Linked DNA regions of Homo sapiens: regions 1 and 2 are each linked to region 3. The links are contacts of gene promoters, found by promoter capture Hi-C in human tissues and cell types (Jung and others, 2019). All regions are on one chromosome and are shown on one strand. Each heading gives the region's core, a stretch centred on a gene start or on the middle of the fragment in contact. The rest is flanking DNA. Distances are from core to core; before and after follow the strand shown.

Region 1 (3,012 bases), core at 307-2,806, 330 kb after region 3:
ACTTTTAAACATAAGGCAGCGTCTATCAATTGAGAAGAGAGTCAGGGATTTGCTTGATTTGGATAGTCCCTCTATCAACAGAAGTTTCATAGCCACTGTTGGGAGGAAAAAGCAACAGTGAAACATCAGAGGGGGAAACAGATTTACTGGGGCATAGCAAATCCTAGTAGGGTTTAAGTATTTCATGGGATCAGTTAATTAGTAAGTGGCAAGCTTAAATGACCGTTCCCAGAAATCTTACCTAACATACAGAGCTGACTTCCCAGGAGAGAAACATATTTTCCTTTGGAGACCAATATCTAGTTTTCAATTATTAAAAAGTAGAAAAATATTTATAAAGCACATCTTTCAATGCTACTCTTGTAAAATAATAGATTCTTGCAAATATCTTTCATTATGCCTGCCACTGACGTGCTAGAGTTGTATGCCCTTCTAGCACCTTAAACTATCTCCTGGAAATAATACTGACACAAAACCTAGACTTGGCTCTCACCATTTGCTGGGCATTTCCAAATGAACATTCTTTTGGTTGGAATTCACTCTAGCAAAAGCCAATTTTTAACCTTTCAGCTCTTGCCCAACCCACACACCTTGCAAGGGCTGTAGGGTCCCAGTCCACAAGTATATATATATACAAATTCTTTATCCTTTATTCATGGAAGGAAACATTCTGGCTCCTTTACAAATCCTTTATAGCTCAGAATTTCGGTTTAAAGTGACTTTTGAAATGAAGGCAGAATTATTCTCTGTATTTTTTGATGCTGCTAAGAAGGAATTTCCTCTTGCAATCAAAAAGAAGTACAGGAAGGCAATGGAGACAATAAACCAGGATTACTGGAGATGGTGTTTCCCACTGAGTTGCAGAAGGAAGTATTTGGGGGTAAGTGAATGGATCAGATCATAAAAGTCTATGCAGCTGATCTGAAGAACGTAGATTCTACTCTAAATAAATGGTGAATCATTGATGGCTTGGGGAATATGAACTGATATGAAAAAAATATAGGGAATTAATCTCTCAGCAGTTTGCCCTATGGTGGGAAAGTCTAGAGGCAAGGGTTAGTTTGAAGGTGGTTATACTCATGTTAGTGTGAGGCACTAAGGTTGGGTAGAATTCGAAGTGAGAGAGAAGAATGGATGTGAGAGATGTGTAGTAGAGAAAAATGACTAGACTTAGTGACAAGATGTAAGTGACAAATGAATAAGACGTGGCAAGACTATGAAAGTCCTAAGAAACATAAAAACAAACTGGTAGAAGATATCTTACAGGCAAATTTTGGCATATGGAAAAATAATGTGTTCACACTACCAGTCTAGGTGGACTTTGCATGTATGTATGGGAGGACAATATATAACAGAGGTGACTACCTCCTTTATACTCCATTGTGTTCTGACCTTTCCCTTGTTTTGGTTAAAGCCACGTGAGCTTTAGAATGGGCTAAATATCTATAGTGGGTTGAATAGTGCCCCCCCTCCAACAATTCATGTCAACCCCACACCTCAAAATGTGACCTTATTTGAAAATTGGGTCTTTTAAGATGTACTTAGTTCAGATGAGTCATGCTTGATTAGAGTGGGCCCTAAATCCAAAGACTGGTATCTTTGTAAGAGTAGAGGTGAACCAGATGGATGCATACGTATAGGGAAGAACAACATGTGAAAAACAGAAGCAGACATTTAAATGAGGCAGCTATAAGTCAAGCAATGCTAAGGATTGCTGGAAGCCCCCAGAAGCTAGGAAGACGCAAAGAAGGATTTTTTTCCCTAGAGTCTTCAGAGGGAGTATGGCCCTGCTGGCAGGTTGATTTCAGACTTCAAGCATCCAGAACTGTGAGAGGATAAATTTCTCTCATTTTAAGCCACCGAGTTTGTGGTAATTTGTTCCTGTAGCCCTAGGAAATTAATAACATATCTGAACTACAGCAAATAATAAACATTGAACCATCAGTATGTGCTAGACATTGTACTGAATACTTTATTCAGATTACCTGATGGAATCTTATTTTGCTGAGATGATTGTCATATACTTTTAAAATGAAAACACTAAGACTTTGAGGGGTTTTATAAACCCAGGTCATACTGGTAGTAATTTTTGAAACCAGGATTCTTAAAATATCAGTTGGACTTAAGAGCCACCAAGCAAGTTATCTCTCAGTCATTCCATCCACTGCTGAGCAATTCCCAGAAAATGTATTTTCAGCTTTAAAATTCTCGAAAAACAAAACAAAACACTTTTTGTTGAGTTCAGATTCATCAATGGATCAAGGATTCCTAACCCAGATAATACTTCTTGTTCCTATGTTTAGACTCCTTGGTCTTCTGTGAGCCTCTGAGTCTTTGGGCATTACAATAACTTCATTTTGTTTCCATCTATCCTAATTCTTTAGGCTTTGGTATCTAAAGATTTTTGTAATCTCTAAAATTATTTTACCCAGGGACATAAGTTGCGTGGATGGTTTAAAATACACACACTTACACAGATTTGAAGTCTTGGTGAAGCAATATGCAAAATTGTAAGCTTTTCTAATGATTCTTCTTAATTTATTATAATGCCTTTGATGGAATGCAAATCTGCAACGTGGAATTTCTGCTGCTTGTAAAAGAATAACATTGCTAAGTTTAATTTTTACGGAGAAATATTGACAGCATTGATAAAAGCTTAAAAATAGCTTTATTGTTATAGTTGTATATATTAAAGGTGAATGCATTGTCAAATGTCCAGGTCACTCACAATATAAATGTGTATGTGGTGGGACCCATACATTGGTGGTTCTGTAATCCAATCATAGAAAATTTTTACTGATTACCAATTTCCATATTCTGTCAAATGCTTCAAAAATTCCATTTTACATTTGCATATCTATTTGTTTCAGATATTTCACCTATGGGACTTAAAGTTTCTGAATAGGTCAGTGAGGCAGAATTTCCTCTTTTTGCCCTCTATCTCTGACTTGTGTTTGGTGCTAGAAAAATGCATTAATTCGAAATACAGAAAAAAAAACTATTTATTGAGTG
Region 2 (2,978 bases), core at 181-2,680, 400 kb before region 3:
GAAAGCAAAGTCTTTTACAGAAATCACTTGATAGAGGCAATTCAAAGACAATCTTTTGAGCAATTACACCTAAAATACAACAAACCCAGAAAAAGAATGTTTTGGAATCCCTACGAGAGTATCCAGACTACACTATTAGAGAGAGAATTCTCTTATCCCCCAGTGGTTGGGGCTTATCCCCAGTTCCTTGGCGAGGGATCCAGAGGCTGAAGATTGATCCCAAAACTGAGTGAACAGAAAGGTTACATTATGCAGGTTTAAAATCCAACCTTTGTTGGATTTTAAAATATTAGTGAAAAAAAAAAGAGAGAAAATGAAAATTAAATAGTGGCAAGTGACAGCTTGCCATTCTATTCAATAAGGTTAAGCTCACAGGCAATGGATGGAATCAGTCAAATCATCAATAATCAAATTTGAAACCTATTTTTAAAAATGTTTTTAAAATATGAGAAAGATGTAAGGGTTTCCTTGATCAATGGCAAATAAATCAAACATCTTGTGGGCAAGTGGGTGGTCCTCTAAGCCTTCCAGGAAAAAAAGTAGTAATTAATTGAGGGCCAAGGAAGAGTTTGTTGGACAGATAAAGTCATCTGTGAAAGACGGAATGATGATGATGAACAGCAAGAGCCAACAGGATAGAATCTGCATTACTTTGCTGAAGTATTCCAAGCAGAGAAATCCTTGAGTGACAGCTTCTGATTATAATCTTCCTGTGGCATAATTACAATAAATATTAAATGTTTATGTGAGCATATTTGTGTATAGGTTGTATACACAAAACAACACACATAGCAGCAGATGATACAAAAAACTTCTAAGGGTATTTCTGACATTACCTCTTTGCTTTTCTTCTCTTTCCCCCTCCCCCGCTTAAGATGCTAACCTCTTTGTACCATGCTGTTCTGCTCTATTCTTGTCTGGAATGCATGTTAGCTGGCCACCAGGAATCCCAGAAGACAGTTGGGGGGACTGAAGTCTTGTATTATTCTGGTGGGGATATAAGCTAGAATATTAACTTGTTGCAGTTCTTGTGATTTAATTTGTGTTCACATGTTAATAAGGCTTAGGGAAATTCAAGTCATGGAAGACATAGAGTAAAAGCCATAAACTTTTCATTACAGAGTCTGGGTCACATCATTCCCAATACTTTTGTTGACTTTTATAAAGGTCTGGAATAAGGAGCTCCCCTTTTATTATGTATTTTAATACACAGACACCTGTTCTAAGAAAATCTTACCTACTTTAGAATTAGATTCAAGATTTAGATACCAAGAGTATGTGACTCCTGGTAGGGAGCCCCCTTTGGAAGAAGAAACTCTTGGTGAATCAGTCAGTTCTAAACTCTCAAGAAACCCATGCTATTTTAAGTTCAATTAGCATTCACGGAATATCCACTAGTAGCTGTATAGGCAAGGCATAGAGATAGATAGCACAAAAAAAGAGGCGTTAATTCTACTGGGAGAAAGCAGAATCAGAGAAACCAGGGCAGATAGGTCCTGAGAAGGGCTTCAGAGGTGACCAAAGAGGAAAAAGCTATTTTGAGCACAGAAGATGGCATAGGCAAATGTGTGGAAGCATAAAATAACATGCTGTGCTTGGGGGGTATTTCAGTACTGAAATCTGTGTGTGTGTATGTGTGTGTGTGTGCACACGCACGTGATGGGAAAGGAGGCCAGAGTGACAAACAGGGTCTTAATTATAAGATAATTTTTAATTTTTTCTGGCCAGGAATTATTTTGTAGATTATGGAGAGCCATTTAAGGTAATTAATCTGGAAAGAGATGTGTTCAAATTTGTACTGCAAATAAAGCATACTGCACATACAGTTAACTTGCTTTAATAAATTAACAATATGGTGTGAATATATTCCACATTAGTAAATATTCATTTGTAGCATTAATTAAAATCTTTGCATTGTATTCTGTGGGCATTTTAACTTTTTAATTAATTAATCCCTTATGTTAGGCAGTTAGAATACTTGAGAGTTAAGTTTTTGAGACCAGTAAAAATTTAAGTTTAGAACATGTTTTGCTTGAAATGCCTGTAATACAGCCAAATGGGGGTGCTTGAATATTCAGATGGTGCTTGAATATAAAAGGTGGAGCTTGAGGGGAAAGATCTGAGAATGTAGACATAAATATGGGAATCATTAGTATATTGATTACTTAAAGTCAGAAGGGGATACTTAATGGACAAGGAAAAGAAAATGTGCAATTCTTTTTTAAAAAAGTAAAGGGGATAGAACCTTTGGAAATACTGTTTTTAGGCAGTGAGTTGAGTAATAAGAGATTGGGAAAGAAAAATCAGGGGGATGGGGTAAAATCTGAAGAGTATGATGTAGGAGGATCCAGAGGAAAAGAGAGAGTTGATTCCTATAACAACTTTTGGAGAAGTGAGACTAGGTAATACTATTATTATTATCTACTTTCCACAAAGGCTAGATGTCTTCTTGGGGCTAATACAATTGTAAACATTAAAACTGGATTGCTAATCCTGATCTTCTAGCTTCAATTCTAACAGAACTGGATTTTATGATTCAGGTAATTAAAGAAAGAGAGTATAAAAGAATAGCAGGATAAGCTTCAGAAGCTAAAATTAAGTTGGAATCTGTAGGAGATATAACGTATAGAAAAAGAACATGTTCTTAAATTAAAGCAGGCAAAGAAGGATATCCCAAAATAGGCTAGGAGAGAAAGCTGATAAAAATGTCTTGAAATGTTAAGTCTTGGCTTTCAAATTTGAGAATATGGTGGATAAGATAATCAGAGAAACCCTACCCAGTAGAACTGATACTCTTAAACATAATGGACTGAAAACAAACATAACAAACAAGCTATTTTAAACAACAACTTTTTTTTACTTTGAAAGAATTTTAAATACATAGAAAAGTTACAAAACAGTACATTAACGTATACTCTTTCACCCAGCTTCTCCAGCTTCATCTAACTTCAACAACTTACATAATTGTAGTACTACAC
Region 3 (2,868 bases), core at 134-2,633:
TCGCTGTCCCCTCCCGTTTACAGAAGCATCTGTGGTGCTTTTCATTTTGGATTTACATGCAGGAAACGTATATATGTTTATATACCGACCGCATAATATATAAATACATATACGCGTGCCCAAGGGCCTGGTTTTCGTCTCTCCTCCCCACGAAACGGAATGTTTTGGAGCCGATGGATAACAAGAACACTATTAACATTCTTTTGAGCCTGTTTTTTAAAAGGGGGAGGGAGCGTGAAGAATTGTTTAACATTTGGCCATCGTTTGGCTGCACACTAAGCACCACGAAGTATTTATGGTTGCAGATCAGGTGCAAACGGGGCTTAGAGAGAAAGGTAAGGGAGCTTCCTGCGTCCGCCGAGCTCCGGCGTTTACCTTAATCCCGGGGATTGCCGAGAACTTCCTATTCCCTGCCTCTCCTTCGCCTTCCCCACCTTCCACCCACCCTTCTCTGCTCTCTCTCTTCTGTAAACTCAACCCTTTTCCAATCCCATTGGGGTGGGGGTGGGGGGTGCTGGAGGTATAATCGTCTATTTGAGTTTAAATGCGTCTCTCTTTCCCAGGCTAGTAGCTGAGTTTTCCAATAGCCTTTCTGGCGGTTTTAGGAAATCGTGTCCTTTATAAAAAATAATGCTACCTAAATAAGTGTTTTAAACATCTGAAGATGCCAGTCCCTCACCCTATCCTCTGATGAAAATAAAAGCAATAAAAAATAATGAACTTTAATAAACTGGGTGGTTTTTTTTAAGCGTTGGGGTTCATGGAAGCTCCCAAACGCTTTTTTTCATTTAAAAAGAAAGATAACCAGCAAACAAACCAATCTCAGGAGGAGTCCACAGTGGAGGAGATTCGCCTTCCGTTTCTGCATAAAACCAATACATTTTACTTGGAGGGTAATTTGCCAGAGTTGAGCGAGACGAAGCCGTGTCTAAATAAGTACATGACACTAAATTTCCTTTTAAATCCACCTTTTACACCATGGCCAGTCGCTTGTTTAACTCCCGTTCAAGGGACACGGTTTTCAAACGTGACCTTTTGGGGAGATGTGGGAACTTCCCCTCATTTCTTCTTCTGTGCCGCTAACCTCTTTCCTCCTCCGCGCGGCATCTCCAGCCCCGGCAGTTTGTAAATTGCCCGTTTTGCCCACCCTCCTGGTGGGCGTTCTCTCCCCCACTCCACTCCTGCCCCCTCTGTCCTTTCTTCATTGGCGTCTTCGGAGCAGATGCATCTTCTTTCTTCTTGGCCTCACTCTCCCGTTCCCCCGTCAGTCCCCCCACCCGCGGCTCCCCACTTGCCCCAGCTCTCCTCGCCGCTCCTCCCCGCCTCCCCGCGGAGGGTTGACCCTTCAATTCGGAGTCCCGGCCTGTGGGCGGGCGGGGGAGCGCCGCGGCTGTAAGCCGAGGATCAGGCGGCGGCGCGGAGAGCGCGCCCGGGCGGCCAGCGCCGAGCGCGCGGAGCTGGCGTGGGGAGACACGGCAGGAAAGGCGAGTCGGAGTGGGTGATGAGAGGCCGGGAGAGCCCGTCCGAGCCGGAGAGACCGGAGAGAAGGGAGCGAGCGACTGTGCGGCGCTCACGCTGCCAGAGCCCGGGCGGAGTGCAGTCGCCTCCAAAGCCTTAGAGCGGCGCCCCAGTCACTGCAGCTCTTCACCCTAGAGCTGTGCCCTGGGACCACAGAGACCAAGAGCATGGAAATCGGCTGAGAGGTACAAAAGAAATAAGGAACAGATTACGAGAAAGCGGGGAGGGTTTCCTGGCGAAATACGGAGGCTGAGCAGATGGAGGAACAATGCCGCCTCCAGAAGAAAACCCTTGCCTGAACCCTCGGCGGAGCGCAGAGGAGCTGCTTTCAGCCTTCTGCTCTCCCCAGGCCCTCCGGCTAGTTCTGGGGTTGGTTCCGCCGGTTAGTTTGACAGGGATAAGAAAGTTGCTCTTCTTCCCCACAACGTTTCCTGAGAGGTGGTTTTCAGATCTGTGTGTTTCCAGTCAAGATGTCACTCCCTAGATCCCCCGCGTTGAGCAACTAATATATTATGCATTATTGGGCAATAAACTCTCCTGGGAAGAGAAGGTATTCCAAACATTTAAACCGTTCTCCACCGACTCCTGCCCGCCTCAACACAATGCCTTGTGAGTAGAAATGAAAAACCACCTGAATTTAAAATTATTTAGGTTGAGATTTTGCATTGGGAATAATTTCTTCCAGAGGAGGTTGTTAGTGTGTTATAGAGATGAGGGATATTACATGTCCAATATTTGATTCATTTGTGATAATTCTAAATCATGAACAGTTGGCCTCCACAAAGGTACTATTTCTTTTTGCATTTCCAGGGCCATAGTGATACATATAACACTTGGGAAACGTGAATTCGTATAGTTAACCCAGTATCTGTTACTCTGCATTTTTACAGGTAGTTAATATACTCATTTTCCCTCTTTTTATACTCAAACTCCGGTAGACTATTTTTGCTTAAGTCAATTGAGTTGTCATGCTGTACATGAAAATTACAGGGTCTTAATGCATTTCTCACCATTAATTGTGCTCAATTATTAATAGGATCATAGATATTAAAATGTCACTGAGAAAGGGTATGTGTACCTATGTTTGAGTGTAAAACCTATAAAATGTCTCAGCATTTCTATCAGCCATTGTAACCTAGCAGAACACAAGGTTTTTGAAATGAGCTCAGAAGCAAGGGCCATTCATATATTTAAAATATTAAATGTTAAATGCAAAAACATTAAATTTACTGTGCCTTTGGCAGAGAATGAATCTAAGTCTACTTGCACTGCAGAGTGATTGAGTGATTCACAGAGAAAGTGGAAGTTAATCATTACTCAGGCCTTCTGATTACATGGTTTGATTAAAAG

Evidence for each region. Contacts are between HindIII fragments. The study calls those that stand out against the background at their distance.
Region 1: a contact is called between a fragment that was not itself captured here and the fragment with the promoter of NLGN1 in region 3, in 1 of the 25 tissues and cell types used here (hippocampus).
Region 2: a contact is called between a fragment that was not itself captured here and the fragment with the promoter of NLGN1 in region 3, in 1 of the 25 tissues and cell types used here (dorsolateral prefrontal cortex).

What each region holds. Positions count from the first base shown.
Region 1 is chr3:173,727,051-173,730,062 of GRCh38, forward strand. All of the region lies in intron 3 of NLGN1 (neuroligin 1), which reads left to right. Among named protein-coding and RNA genes, the nearest start is that of NLGN1-AS1, 190 kb to the right of the region's middle. The HindIII fragment of the contact is 3,312 bases long and covers 1-3,012 here.
Region 2 is chr3:172,992,908-172,995,885 of GRCh38, forward strand. The region is part of intron 4 of SPATA16 (spermatogenesis associated 16); the gene reads right to left. Among named protein-coding and RNA genes, the nearest start is that of SPATA16, 150 kb to the right of the region's middle. The HindIII fragment of the contact is 3,298 bases long and covers 1-2,978 here.
Region 3 is chr3:173,396,361-173,399,228 of GRCh38, forward strand. It overlaps NLGN1 (neuroligin 1), which reads left to right and starts at 1,384. Exons shown (of 7, transcript NM_001365925.2): 1 at 1,384-1,703. RefSeq lists an enhancer at 1-152. The HindIII fragment of the contact is 5,603 bases long and covers 1-2,868 here.